Linked DNA regions of Homo sapiens: region 1 is linked to region 2. Evidence: promoter capture Hi-C in 16 types of primary human blood cells and fetal thymus (Javierre and others, 2016). All regions are on one chromosome and are shown on one strand. The core of a region is centred on a gene start or on the middle of the fragment in contact, and the rest is flanking DNA. Distances in the headings are between cores, read along the strand shown. Region 1 overlaps BACE2 (beta-secretase 2). Region 2 holds the start of LINC00479 (long intergenic non-protein coding RNA 479).

What was found. The method cuts DNA at HindIII sites, captures the fragments that hold promoters and counts their contacts. A CHiCAGO score of 5 or more calls a contact.
Region 1: a fragment that was not itself captured here is called in contact with the fragment with the promoter of LINC00479 in region 2 in 7 of 17 cell types (non-activated CD4 T cells, total CD4 T cells, naive CD8 T cells and 4 more); the score reaches 8.3 in non-activated CD4 T cells.

Annotation. Positions count from the first base shown.
Region 1 is chr21:41,271,544-41,278,906 of GRCh38, forward strand. BACE2 (beta-secretase 2) reads left to right here. Exons shown (of 9, transcript NM_012105.5): 9 at 3,828-7,363. The coding sequence ends at 4,081. Among named protein-coding and RNA genes, the nearest start is that of FAM3B, 42 kb to the right of the region's middle. RefSeq lists an enhancer at 3,030-4,229. The HindIII fragment of the contact is 225 bases long and covers 4,253-4,477 here.
Region 2 is chr21:41,712,945-41,719,735 of GRCh38, forward strand. LINC00479 (long intergenic non-protein coding RNA 479) reads right to left here and starts at 2,831. Exons shown (of 6, transcript NR_027272.1): 1 at 2,798-2,831; 2 at 2,176-2,339; 3 at 1,290-1,408; 4 at 1,076-1,188; 5 at 607-728; 6 at 1-56. It overlaps LINC00112 (long intergenic non-protein coding RNA 112), which reads left to right and starts at 3,492. Exons shown (of 3, transcript NR_024028.2): 1 at 3,492-3,600; 2 at 4,057-4,230; 3 at 4,398-4,638. The HindIII fragment of the contact is 7,368 bases long and covers 1-4,643 here.

The sequences.
Region 1 (7,363 bases), core at 3,115-5,614, 440 kb before region 2:
TGTCTCATTTGTTACATTTTTTCCCTTTTTTCCTTTTTTGCTGCCTTCTTTTGGATTATTTTCTATTTCTTTATATCTCCTTGGCTAGTTTATTAGCTATAACTCTATATCGTGAAATTTTAGTGGTTGCTTTAGAATATGTAGTGTAAATTTTTTAACTGACCACAGTCTACCACTTCATATAGTCTAAGAGCCTTCCAACAATAGACTTCCATTTCTTGCCTTCGGTCCTTTGTGCTATTGTCATCCATTTTACCTATGCCTATATTATAAGCCACCCAGCACATTGTTATAATTTTTGATTTAATTGATTATCTTTGTAAATATTTAAAATTAAAAGTAAAGATTTTATAACTACTATATACTTCCCGCTTCTGGTGTTCATCATTCTTTTGTGTAGATTCAAGTTTCCTTCTGATGTCCTTTTTCTTCTGCTTGAAGAACTTTCTGTAGTGAAAATCTGTGATGTGTTCTCTCAGCTTGTGTATGACTGAAAATATTTTTATTTCTTCTTCATTTTTAAGATATTTTTGCTGGGTATAGAGTTCTCGGTTGACAGGGCTTCTTCTACCCCCAGTACTTTAAAGATGTTACTCTATTGTCTTCTAGTTTGCATTGCTTCCAACATGAAATCATCTGTAATCCTTATTATTATTCATTTGTACATAATATTTCTTTTTTCTCTCTCCTTGCTTTTAGGAAATTTTCTCTTTATCACTGGTTTTCAGCAGTGCGCTATTATAATCTATGTCATGTTTCTTGTGTTTGGGGTCCTTTGGGCTTCTTGGGTCTGTGGGTTTATAGTTTCATAAAATTTGGAAAATTTTTGGTTTTTTCAAATATTTTTTGCCTCACAATCCCTTCTTCCTTTTGAGTACTCTGATTACATGATTTAGCAGCTTGATATTGTCCACAGTTTACTGATGTTCTCTCTCTCTCTTTTTTTTCAGTTTTTTCTCTGTGCTTCATTTCTATTGTTTTGGTTTTTTTTAAATTCATTAGTCTGTTTTTCTGCAGTGTATAATCTGCTCTTACAACCATCCCGTATATTTTTCATCTCACATATTATAATTTTTATCACTAAAAATTTGATTTAGATCTTTAATGTCTTCCGTGTCTCTATTTAACATGTTTAACATTTTCTCTGGCATCCTGAGTAGAATACAGTTATAATAAATATCTTGATATCCTGCCTGCTAATTCTATCATCTGTGCCATTTCTTACTAAGTTCCAATTGATTGATTTTGCTCCCTATTATGAACTGTGTTTTCCTGCTTCTTTGCATAATTAGTGCTGTAGAATCAATGTTTATGTCCTGCCAAAATTCTTATGTTGAAACCTATCGGGGGAACCTGCCCCCGATAATTCAACATTATTTCACGTAGGTTCTTTTCTATTTCCTTAAGTGTCAGCCGGTCTGAGAAATAAAGGGAAAGAGTACAAAAGAGAGAAATTTTAAAGCTGGGTGTCCAGGGAAGACATCACATGTCGGCAGGTTCGTGATGCCCCCTGAGCTGCAAAACCAGCAAGTTTTTATTAGTGATTTTCAAAGGGGAGGGAGTGTACGAATAGGGTGTGGGTCACAGAGATCACATACTTCACAAGGTAATAAAATATTACAAGGCAAATGGAGGCAGGGCAAGATCACAGGACCAGGGCGAAATCAAAATTGCTAATGAAGCTTTGGGCACGCATTGTCATTGATAACATCTTATCAGGAGACAGGGTTTGAGAGCAGACAACTGGTCTGACCAAAATTTATTAGGCGGAAATTTCCTTGTCCTGATAGGCCTGGGAGCGCTATGGGAGACCGGGGCTTATTTCATCCCTTATCGGCAACCGTAAAAGACAGACATTGCCAGAGCAGCCATTTCAGGGACCTACCCCTAGGAACACATTCTTTTTCTCAGGGCTGTTCCTGCTGAGAAAAATAATTCAGCGATATTTCTCCTATTTGCTTTTGAAAGAAGAGAAATATGGCTCTGTTCCGCCCGGCTCTCAGGCAGCCAGACCTAATGGTTATCTCCTTTGTTCCCTGAACATTGCTGTTAGCCTGTTCTTTTCTCAAGGTGCCCAGATTTCATATTGTTTAAACAATTTGTGCAGTTAACACAATCATCACAGGGTCCTGAGGTGGCATACATTCTCAGCTTAGGAAGATGATGGGATTAAGAGATTAAAGTAAAGACAGCATAGGAAATCACAAGAGTATTGATTGGGGAAGTGATAAATGTCCATGAAATCTTCACAATTTATGTTCAGAGATTGCAGTAAAGACAGGCGTAAGAAATTATAAAAGTACTAATTTAAGGAACTAATAAATGTCTGAAATCTTCACAATTTATGTTCTTCTGCCATGGCTTTGGCCAGTCCCTCCGTTCGGGGTCCCTGACTTCCCGCAACAGAAACCTAATCTCCAAGGTGATGATATTTGGAGTTGGGGCCTTTGGAAGGTGATTAGGTCACGAGGGCAGAGCTTTTCTTTGTAAATGGAATTACTGCCCATTATTAAAGACAGTCCAAGAGAGCTCCCTTGTCTCTTCCACCATGTAAAGACACAGCAAGAAGATCATTATCTACAAACCAGGAAATGGGAGTATAGATTGACTGCAGGGTGCATCCCTCTGTTCTCGGTGTTGGCAGGCTCTTGTTCATTGCCTTTCTTTTTCAGTGCACTTAGGAAAGCCATATTATGACAGAATCCACATTAGCAAGAAAATGCAGTCACTTTGCAAAGTAATCAAGCCTGTTTTCCTCTGATTTTAAAACCATTCTTTTCAGGTCATTATCGCATTGTTATTTTGACTTTTTCTTTCCTCAGTCAAAAAGGGTATTATTTGGCAGCTCTGAAGATCTTGAGGCTTTAGTTACAGAAAAATCAAATTCTTAGCAGTGTTATTTTCTGGTGCCAAAATATTCATTTCTGTGATTAAATATAGGAAAAATGGGTAATGAGGCCTATTTCTTTTCCGTATTGCAAGTAAAGCTTAAGATCCCATATTCCTGAAAGGGGCAGAGAAGCCTAGTGTAGGCAAAGGAAGTCTACAGATAATCCACAAACCGGCTTTAAGAAATCATCTCAACTTCCTTCTTGGTTTGAAGTTATTCAAGAGTCTCTAGCAGAAGTCACCGGGTGAATTTTAACTGTTTCTCTTTGTCACCAGTGATGTCATGAATTAGGTGTTGCATTCACTTACTGCTCCTGGCTGTTGATGAGACCTAGGATAAGAGTGGGGCAGGGAGGGTCTCTCAAGCCAGCCTGACCCCCGGAGGTCTCACAACCCACTAAGACTATGAGTCAGGTTGATATGAGGTCCCTATCTGTTGTAGAATCCATGGTAGGGAGTGAACTCAGGTTGACTCCACTGGGGAAAATTCCCCATGACGTAGGCAGGTCCAGCTGAGCTTTCTGCGGTAAATTCTCCTTCTCTTTCTCCTCTTTTTTCATCTCCACTGAGGAAGCACAACCCACACAGCTGTCATGACCAGGTGCTGACCTGCACTCTCACCTGTGTAGTACCGCAGTGTCGCTGGCATTCCATGAAGCACAGGGTGCTTCCATATGTGCCCTGCTGCAGTTCCCCTCCACACCTAGGCTCGGTACCCACACACCTTAAAACATGCCGTCGTTCCAGTTTGCAGGGACTGGACCCCCAAAGGCACGCTGAGCCGTGACCCCACTCAGTGCTTCCTGAGCTGTCTAAGCCACTGGGACCTCAGTGGACTTTAACTGTGGTTTAATAAACCAAGGGGTTCTGTCTGTGTCCAATGTGAGAGGTGGACCGCTCATTTCACAGCTGTGGATTTTCCCTTTCTGTCTCCCCAGAAATTGCAGGTGCTGCAGTGTCTGAAATTTCCGGGCCTTTCTCAACAGAGGATGTAGCCAGCAACTGTGTCCCCGCTCAGTCTTTGAGCGAGCCCATTTTGTGGATTGTGTCCTATGCGCTCATGAGCGTCTGTGGAGCCATCCTCCTTGTCTTAATCGTCCTGCTGCTGCTGCCGTTCCGGTGTCAGCGTCGCCCCCGTGACCCTGAGGTCGTCAATGATGAGTCCTCTCTGGTCAGACATCGCTGGAAATGAATAGCCAGGCCTGACCTCAAGCAACCATGAACTCAGCTATTAAGAAAATCACATTTCCAGGGCAGCAGCCGGGATCGATGGTGGCGCTTTCTCCTGTGCCCACCCGTCTTCAATCTCTGTTCTGCTCCCAGATGCCTTCTAGATTCACTGTCTTTTGATTCTTGATTTTCAAGCTTTCAAATCCTCCCTACTTCCAAGAAAAATAATTAAAAAAAAAACTTCATTCTAAACCAAAACAGAGTGGATTGGGCTGCAGGCTCTATGGGGTTCGTTATGCCAAAGTGTCTACATGTGCCACCAACATAAAACAAAACCAAGCCTTGGCTCGTTCTCTTCTCTCTTCAATCTCTGGAAAAATAAGTACATATAGTTGATAACCCCTCTTAGCTTACAGGAAGCTTTTTGTATTAATTGCCTTTGAGGTTATTTTCCGCCAGACCTCAACCTGGGTCAAAGTGGTACAGGAAGGCTTGCAGTATGATGGCAGGAGAATCAGCCTGGGGCCTGGGGATGTAACCAAGCTGTACCCTTGAGACCTGGAACCAGAGCCACAGGCCCCTTTTGTGGGTTTCTCTGTGCTCTGAATGGGAGCCAGAATTCACTAGGAGGTCATCAACCGATGGTCCTCACAAGCCTCTTCTGAAGATGGAAGGCCTTTTGCCCGTTGAGGTAGAGGGGAAGGAAATCTCCTCTTTTGTACCCAATACTTATGTTGTATTGTTGGTGCGAAAGTAAAAACACTACCTCTTTTGAGACTTTGCCCAGGGTCCTGTGCCTGGATGGGGGTGCAGGCAGCCTTGACCACGGCTGTTCCCCTCACCCAAAAGAATTATCATCCCAACAGCCAAGACCCAACAGGTGCTGAACTGTGCATCAACCAGGAAGAGTTCTATCCCCAAGCTGGCCACTATCACATATGCTTACTCTTGCTTAAAATTAATAAATCATGTTTTGATGAGAAAAAACTATTCTATTTCACTAGCTTAGTTGTCTCTTTTTCCAAATCTTCTCTGGAAGTAGGTTGGCTATTACCCTGTTGGGAAACAGGGAAATGGCCTGATGCCCCTATTTCTGACCAGCTGTCAGGGAAGGAAGATGCAAGATGTGCAGAAGACACAAGGTAACGTCTACTTATCCCCGTGCTTCGAAACCGTGTGTTTCCCTTTGCAGAACTGGTTAGCCTCAAGCATACCCATCCAATCAGCTTAAATTGTTCAGCAGTTGACCTCTGTGCTTCTTCCTTTGGGGGTGTTTAATCTTTGGTAACAGTTGTGCAGTGGTAGCCTTATTTCGGGGGGCAGTCCCTACTTTCTGTCACTTATCGAGGCCTTTGCCAAAGAAAAGTGGAAGCCGTTTCCTTGACATAGCCTTATATGACCTGATGTCATTAGGAGAAGAGTTAAAAGACAGTATCCCCTCTCTCCTGCTTGTGTGCCAAGTTCAGTGTTCCCTTTGCATTTTTTTGGGGTGGGTTGGCTATATTACAGAATTCCACCAAAAGTGCTAAGTGTCCCCTCCTGCAGAAGTATCGTTTGTATTCACAGTAGGCTACGTGTGGATGTTTCAGCCATCTGCTCTGCTCCCTGGGTCCCCGGGTCACCACCATACTGAGAAATATAGGACTCTGCCAAAGAGACGTGGAGGCCACGTCGGCTTGTCATGGTGTCCTGGAAGACTCTCCAGCAGCCAGAAGAACCTTCTGTGCTGTTTTCACTAGAGAAGATTTGAGTTGCAGCCTCTTGGAAAGAACATGACGGCACGGAACGGGAGGAGGGGGCTCTTGTATCAGGGCCCGTTGTCACATCCGCTCTCAGCTTGTTGAAAACTCATAATCTCAGAATGCATTTCACACGGAGAGATGTCTGGAAGTCCAATTCTCATCCCATTGGCTTTTTCCGTGGTTGCTGTTTTGTGGGCCGCTTTGCACAGGAGTGAAGCCAACACCCCTAGATTGTGCCTTCACCCTTGCTGTGAAAAATTCAAAGCCCTGAAATAAGAGGAGGGAATCGCAGACATGCCCTGATTAGTTTTCCTGCTTATTTCTTCATACAGGCATCTTCTGTTCCGTTGTATTGTGTTAGGTTTCAGAGGCGGGGAGCTTCCTCCTGCAGCAGATGAACAGGCATAGTTCTTAAAATACAGGAAAGTAACAAGTGAGGTTTCCAGGTAGAGTAGGTGAATGAAGTTTGCCGTCATGCTCTGTATTTCATATCAGATTTCTTTATCTTTTCATATCGCATGTCATTGGATGTGACATTTTGATGAAAATACTGAAACTACAAAAGCATAACTTCGCAACAAGAATGAGATAGACAATTGAATGTGGGACATTTTTCTGGCATGTCTTGCTGCTGAGAATCGGACTTCCAGTCAAAACCCTGTTAGTGACACCCACCTCCTCCAGTTATGCAAATTGATGCTTAGCTTGGCAAGCTTTCAAGGAGGTTTGCTTGGAACAGGAAAGGAATTAACAACCCTTTGAGGGTGTCATTTTTACCTTGTAATACACTGTGGAAAATTCTGGAAGACGGTCCTTGCCTGAAAAGGTGCAACTTAGCATTAGGTTGTTATCAGAAACCTTGTCAAGTCTGATGGGAAATGAATAGATGCTGCTTTATTTCCTTGATAACTTCTTTGGAAGTCTGAAATAAATCCTGCCTTCAGTAACTGAAACCATTTATTAAAAATAGCAAGAAACAAGATGGGGACCAATTCTATTTTTATTCTTGGGAATTTGAAAGAGCCACAAGTGATTGGTGTCCGATCTCCCAGCATATACTGTACACTATTTTGTATTTCTCCTGAACCAAAACCAAGTACTTAGCACTCAAGAAACAGATGCCCTGTGTGTGACCGAGGGGAGTGTTTTTCCACAACAGGTTCCACTTCTGAACACTTGGAAGGACCTTGCCTGATTCATGGTGAAACACAGAGGTTTTGGTTGGAGATAAATTTGGGGTCAGTTACTGTTCAAAATTGTGAAAGTAGTTCCCAGGAAGACAGCATTAGTGACTCCGCAGTGCTTTGGGTAATAGATTTTGAAAAGCAATTGTGAGTTGGGGATTCCATCATTTCATTTAAGAGGTGAAGAGGGATTTAATTATTTAATACGCCGGGTGCAAACTTGTTAAATTCCTCTTTCCCTGTCCCTGCTTGGTGGAGCTGCCACGTGTGGTTCAGTTCTAAGTTCTGGACTAGTGCCACTCGATATCATTGGGAATAAATCGTTGTTCAACAGTCTGTTCCACAAACAACAGTAATTGAATTTCACAGACTTTATCC
Region 2 (6,791 bases), core at 1,581-4,080:
TGGATCCTGACTTCCTCGTGGACCCTACTGTGTCGGGAAAAACAAACAAACGAACCCTGGAAGGAAACACCATGAGTTGTTAGTAGTGCCTGTCTCTGAATGATGGGCTTACAGGTGGTTTTCAATTTTTTGTCTTTAATTTTTTTTTTTTTTTTTAGACTGAGTCTCACTCTGTTGCCCAGGCTGGAATGCAGTGGCATGATCTTAGCTCACTGCAACCTCTGCCACCCGGGTTCAAGCGATTCCCCTGCCTCAGCCTCCCAAGCAACTGGGATTACAGACATTCGCCATCATGCCCAGCTAATTTTTGTGTTTTTGGTAGAGATGGTGTTTTGCCATGTTGGCCAGGCTGGTCTTGAACTCCTGACCTCAGGAGATCTGCCTGCTTTGGGCACCCAAAGTGCTAGGATTATAGGCGTGAGCCACAGCACCTGGCTTGTCTTTAATTTTTTGTTTATACTTTTCTATACCTTCTAATTGTTTTCAACCAACACGTATATCCCAGAAAATGTTTTAATGATTAAAATAAAACAATTGCCCTCTCCTCCTTGGAGCCCCATCCACAAGAGCAGCTTCTGCAGATGTGGGAAGGAGAAGACTTTGTACCTGGGTCCCAGGCCACGTGAATAATTAACCCTGTCTAGGGAGCCTTGGAGGTCTGATGAGGCCAGGGCTTGAAGGAGAGCCGCGGAGCACGCCAGGATCCAGGCTTGTGGGTAGCAGCATCCCTGGAAATGGTCCCCAGTGGGGGAGGAACCAGTAGCCATCACCTCCAACCCCCAGCCACCGCCCCGCGCCATGTGAGTGAGGTGGCATCTGGTTTTCCACACACACCTCCCCATGTCGCTGGACGCAGGCAAGGCCACCCAACCCCCAAGCCAGAGTCACCCGGACAGACGGATACTAGGCACCTTAGCACTTCCATGGCCAGAGGCCTCCTGAGGTGGGAACCGGGTCCTAGCCCATCCCAGGCCATCCCCTCCAGGACCTTCCTGGAGGAGCGGGGAGACCAGACTTAGAGGAAGGCTCCATGTCCCAGGTCCAGACAGGGGTGAGGGGGAAGAGGGGTGAGCACCTGTGTTAGGCACTTTGAACTCTCCAGGTCAGGTGACTGCATCCAGCTGAGACTCCTGGCCTCCCTCCAGCGTGGAATGAGCAGCCGGTCCTGTCCCGTCCACCCCTCCAGTGCTGCGGAACAGAACGGGAATGGCAAGTCCCCATGTGCTGTCTCCCCGCCCTTCTACAGCACCGGTGGCACAAATGCTGGGGACAGTGCCGGCCCCACTCACAGGAGAGCTGCTGGGCTGGCTCCAAGGCTCCTCCGTCCATGGCTGCTGGGCTGGCTCGGAGGCTGCCTCCGTCCATGGTCTCTGCAGTGGACAGTCTGTGTCACGCCTCCATCTGTGGTCTTTGCAGTGGACAGTCTGTGTGACGCCTCCTCCGTCCATGGTTTTTGCAGTGGACAGTCTGTGTCATGCCTCCATCCATGTCTTCCAGCAACACCACCTCACTCTGCTTTACACAATCACTCCACCTCCGTGTAATGCCCAACCTTGTTTTTCCTTTATTCACCTAGCCTTGCTTCTCCCTTAGCTGAGAGAGTCACACAAACTCCATCTTGGCTCTTTCACCGGCAGCCCCTTCCTCAAGGACTTAACTTGTGCAAGCTGACTCCCAGCACATCCAAGAATGCAGTTAACTGATAAGATACTGTGGCGAGCTAGATCCGCAGTTCCCAGGAATTTGTCCGAATGATAACGCCCGAAGCCCCGCGTCTATCACCTTGTAATAGTCTTAAAGCCCCTGCACCTGGAACTGTTTACTTTCCTGTAACCATTTGTCCTTTTAACTTTTTGACTACTTAACTTCTGTAAAATTGTTCTAACTAGACCCCCCTCCCCTTCCTAAACCAAGATGTAAAAGTTAATCAAGCCCCTTCCTCGGGGCCAAGAGAATTTTGAGCGTTAGCTGTCTCTTGGTTGCCAGCTAATAGAGGACTCCTAATTCATCTCAAAGTGTGGCGTTTTTCTAACTCGCTCAGGTACAACATCCCCACATGCCCTGCCCCCGCTTTGTATGCACACAGCACACACCTGTGCACATACAAACATCTGCTTTCACACATGGACACACTCACTGAGGTGAAGAGGCACACTCAGGCACACACACACTCACATTTGGTACATGCAGCTCCTGAGGGGCAAGGCTGAGCTCCTTCTCAGGAACGGACACAAGACTGAGGGCTGGGTCACTCAGATACTTTGCCCCTCGGGCCCCACGGATTGATTTAGGGGTGAACTGTGAATCCCTGGGAGATTCCTTCCTGCCACGCATTCCTGCTGATGGGAAACAAAGCGGTCTTTGAGGGATGCTGGAGGAGGCAGCAGTTTGTGATAAAGAGCTGTGAGAGGAGAAGCCCCTTTGCCACCTGCCCTCCTTTGTGCATTGGATGTTGTCCTCAATGGACGTGATGCCTGGAGTCCCTGCAGCCATCTTGCCTCCATGGGGCAAGCCAGGAAAACCTCACCGACTTAATGGCTTCCCTCCAGCCTTTCCAAAGCCTTGCTCTGGTCTCAGAGAGTTAGGAATTCTGTCACTTAAGGCCCAGAGCATCCTGCTGCTCCCTTCACTCCAGAACCAGAGCCACACGGCTAACAGGCAAAGGGTCAGGAACATAGCCCGTGTTTTCTGCTCTCGGCACTTGGTCATTCTGCATAGAATTTGGCTCCAAGGCCTGGCCTGACACCTTCGCACCAAGGTGCCGTAAATGAAACCTTTACTCCTGAGACTTCCTCACCTCTGCGTTCCCAGGGATCCACAATCTTCTATTTGTAAAATGATTCCCGGTTGTCATGGAGACCAGGGCACCGCAGTGGAGCTGGAATGTTAGGTGGGGTCCAAGGTTCAGTCCTGGGGGTAGGGAGTGGGGCAGGCAGCTTCACTGGGCCCTTTATCTGCCTGATTCTCATCTTTCTTACACAATAGTCTACTCATTATTCCTTCCCTAAGGGCCAGGACACAGGCCTGCCTGGGGTTACAGTCCCTGTCTTTACAAGTCCTCTCCTTCTGGCTCTTGGGCGTGCCTGAGCTCAAAGGAGCCTCCAAGCAAACTTGGCAGGGGGTGTCCCCCAGGGCAGAGGTGGGGCCCTGGCTCAGCACCCCCAGAAACCACAAGGTGGGGGCGGAGGATCCTGCACCTGACCTTCACCTTCGTGTGGATCAGATCAGAGCAGAAGTTCTATTTCTGGAACTGTCAGACCTGCTGACCTCCAGTCAATGGCAGAGGCAGGAAGGCAGGCAGAAATACAAGATGCAGCTCTTGTTACACCTCCTGCACAGACCAACCTAGTCTCGGCTCCACACAGCCACTCACTCTTTCACTCAACACGTGTTTCCGAGCATCTTCTATGTGCCTTTTCTCTATCATCAGATGGGGGCCCCTGCGGTGGGCAGAATAACGGCCACTGCAAAGATGCCAAATCTTATCCCCAGAGCTTCCGCAGAGATCCTGCAGATGTGATTCGAGTCTTCCAGCAACACCACCTCACTCTGCTTTGCACAATCACTCCACCTCCCCACATGTTGCGGAGATTCTCCTGGGTCAGTCGGGGGGTCCAGTGTCATCCTAGGGTCCTTATGAGAGGGAGGAAGGGAGGCGGAGGAGGAGATGCAAGGATGAAGCGAAGGTTGGAGTGATGTGGTCTGCTGCGGGGACCCTGAGGCGTGCAGGCGGCCTCTGGAAGCTGAAAAGACAGGAAGGCAGCTTCTCCCCTGAGCCTCCAGAAGAACCCGGCCCTGCTGACACTGGCCCAGGAGCCCCTTCCCCCATCAGGGCCTGGAGAGGGAAGAAATGACTGTTCACAGATTTTACCCCGCAAGACCCATTTCAGCATTCTGATTTTGAGAACCATAAGACAGTGTGTGTTGTTTAAGCCTCCAAGTCTGTGGATATTCATTACAGCAGCCTTGGGAAACTGACACCACCTCCCCCTAATCCTCCCTCCCGCCCCCACCTACACCTGAACCCTCCCCTTGCTCTTCTCTGCCGATTCACAGGGATTCACACTCTTCCTACTTGCAGCTGTGACACGGGAAACATCCTCCACCAGGTCTTCTCTCACAGTGTGGCCTCTGCGCACAGGTTATCCACCTGTAGACCTGGACGGGACCCTCGAGGCTCCCTACTCTGACCATCTGGTTTTATAGTTGAGGAACCAGAAGCCGAGGCAGGTAACTTGGTGCAGCCTAAAGGCCTCCATCCCTCCAGTGCCCACAACTTAGGTGCCCACGACAACAACACTGGCCTACCGCAAAGACCCAGCCCAGAGGAACAAGGTGCCACTGTATGTCTGAAAAGGGGGCCCTCGGCCTCACTGGGGAGCACCTTCCTCCATCAGGGTCTCGACGGTGAAGAAGCAGGCTGTTTCCATCTTCAGGATACAAGCCATCTGCGCATAGGAAGAGGGTCCAGAGGCTCATCTGGAATCCCTCCTCACTCACTGGACGGAGGACCTGACCCCGTTCCCATCATTGGTTCTGAATCCATCAGCCCAGCAAGACAGGTGTCTCCAGCAAGTTCTGTAAAATACAACCATAGCCGGGCCTGGAGTCAGCCCCCAATAAAGGGTTCACCATGGAGTCAAAGCTTCCTTCACATTGGGAAGAGCCTGATGATGCCGCCTTGGTGCCACCCGTGCAGGCCGTGTTCCACTTCTGTCATGGGCTGGAGAGAAAAGAGCGACATGGACCTGTTCATGAAAGGCTCTTCCCGCAACACCAAGCCTGGGGCCTGCAGGGCCGCCATGAAGAAAGGTGGCTCCTGCTTGGCAGAGAGAAAAGGGGAGGGAGGGCAGGTGAGTCACCAGCATTGGGCCCCTCAGCCCAGGCTGCCAAGGCAGCCCAGTGGAACCTGTCCCCATACAGCATGTTTTTAGTTTGAATGGTTTTACAGTGTTGGAGCTGTAACTTTACAAATTTGCTTTGCCTTCATAACTCTGTAAGAGCTATAAGCAAACGTAGCTTTAATCAGCATTTACAGCGTGCAGGAGCATCTTTCCTTTAATTCTGCAGGAGGATTTGTGCCCTGTGGATGCCATAACAAAGTATCACAAACCCACAAGTCAGGAAGGAAGGTGTGGGCAGGGTGGGTTCCTCCTGGAGGCTCTGGGGACACGTCTGTTCTGTGCCCGCCTCCAGCTTCTGACGGTCGTGCCAATGCTTGGCCTCCCGTGACTATGGAAGCCTCTCTGTAGTCTCCACTTCCATCCTCCCAGCGCTCTCCTCCCCTGTGTCTGTCCCTCCTGCCTTCTGTCTGGCTAATCTCATGAGGACACCATTCATTGGGTTTAGGGCTCACTCTGAATCCAAGATGAGCTCATCTCGAGATTCTTCTTCTTTTTTTTTCTTTTTTTTGAGAAGGAGTCTGGCTCTGTCACCCAGGCTGGAGTATAGTAACACAATCTCAGCTCACTGCAACCTCCGCCTCCCGGGTTCAAGAGATTCTCCTGCCTCAGCCTCCCGAGAAGCTGGGATTACAGGTGTCCACCACAACGTCCCGCTAATTTTTGTATTTTTAGTAGAGACAAGGTTTCTCCATCTTAGCCAGTCTGGTCTTGAACTCCTGACCTCAAGTGATCTGCCCGCCTCAGCCTCCTAAAGCACTAGGATTACAGGTAAGAGCCATCACGCCTGGCTGGGATTCTTAATTATCTCTGCAAAGACCCTATTTCCACATAGGTCACCTTCACAGGTACCAGAGGGTAGGGCTTGGACACATCTTTTGAGGGACCACTACTCAATCTACTACACTAAATTTGAGTAATTATGATCAAGACCAACCCCTCATTTTGCAGAAGAGAACAAGGCCTGAGAAGGGAGCCAGCTGGCCCCAGCCTCACAGCACTGCCACCACACGCAGGCCAGCGCTCAGCCACAGTGGCTCCCCCAAACTTGGACCATGAGGCACCTGCTGGCACCCCTCACCTGGCCTGTTCCAAAGCACTATCTGAGGCTGGCTGTTTGCTTTGCTTTTGTAACTCTAGAAGAGCTACAAGCAAACATAGCTTTAATCAGCATTTACAGTGTGCAGGAGCATCTTTCCTTTAACTCTGCAGAAGGATTCGTGCCCTGTGGATGCCGTAACAAACTATCACAAACCCACAAGTCAGGAATCAAGGTGTGGGCAGGGTGGGTTCCTCCTGGAGGCTCTGAAGGCATGTCTCTTCTGTGCCCCTCTCCAGCTTCTGGTGGTCACTTCCAATCCATCAGGAAGCCATGGGACAGAGCGGCAAGAACCTCAGCGTCAGAGCCCAGGGTCTCTACCCTGGCTCTGCCCCCTTGGGTGTCATTCAGCCTCTTTGCCGCAGGGTCTCCAAAGTCTCTGCCTGCAAAATGTGCACAGAATATCTCCTGTGTGTGGCCATAACCACAGTTCACAGAGATAATGTCCTTTGCCCTGCATGAGATTAACCCTCAGAAAATAGCAGTTAACATTCCATCCAGAAGGCAAGTGTGGTGGCTCACGCCTGTAATCCCAGCACTTTGGGAGGCCGAGGTGGGCGGATCACTTGAAGTCAGGAGTTTGAGACCAGCCTGGCCAACATGGTGAAACCCCATCTCTATTAAAAATAAAAATAAAAATAAAAATAAATTAGCCAGGCACAGTGGCATGTGCCTGTAATCCCAGCTACTCAGGAGGCTGAGGCAAGAGAATTGCTTGAACCTGGGAGGCAGAGGTTGCAGCGAGCCGAGATCACACCACTGCACTCCAGCCTGGGCAACAGAGCCAAACT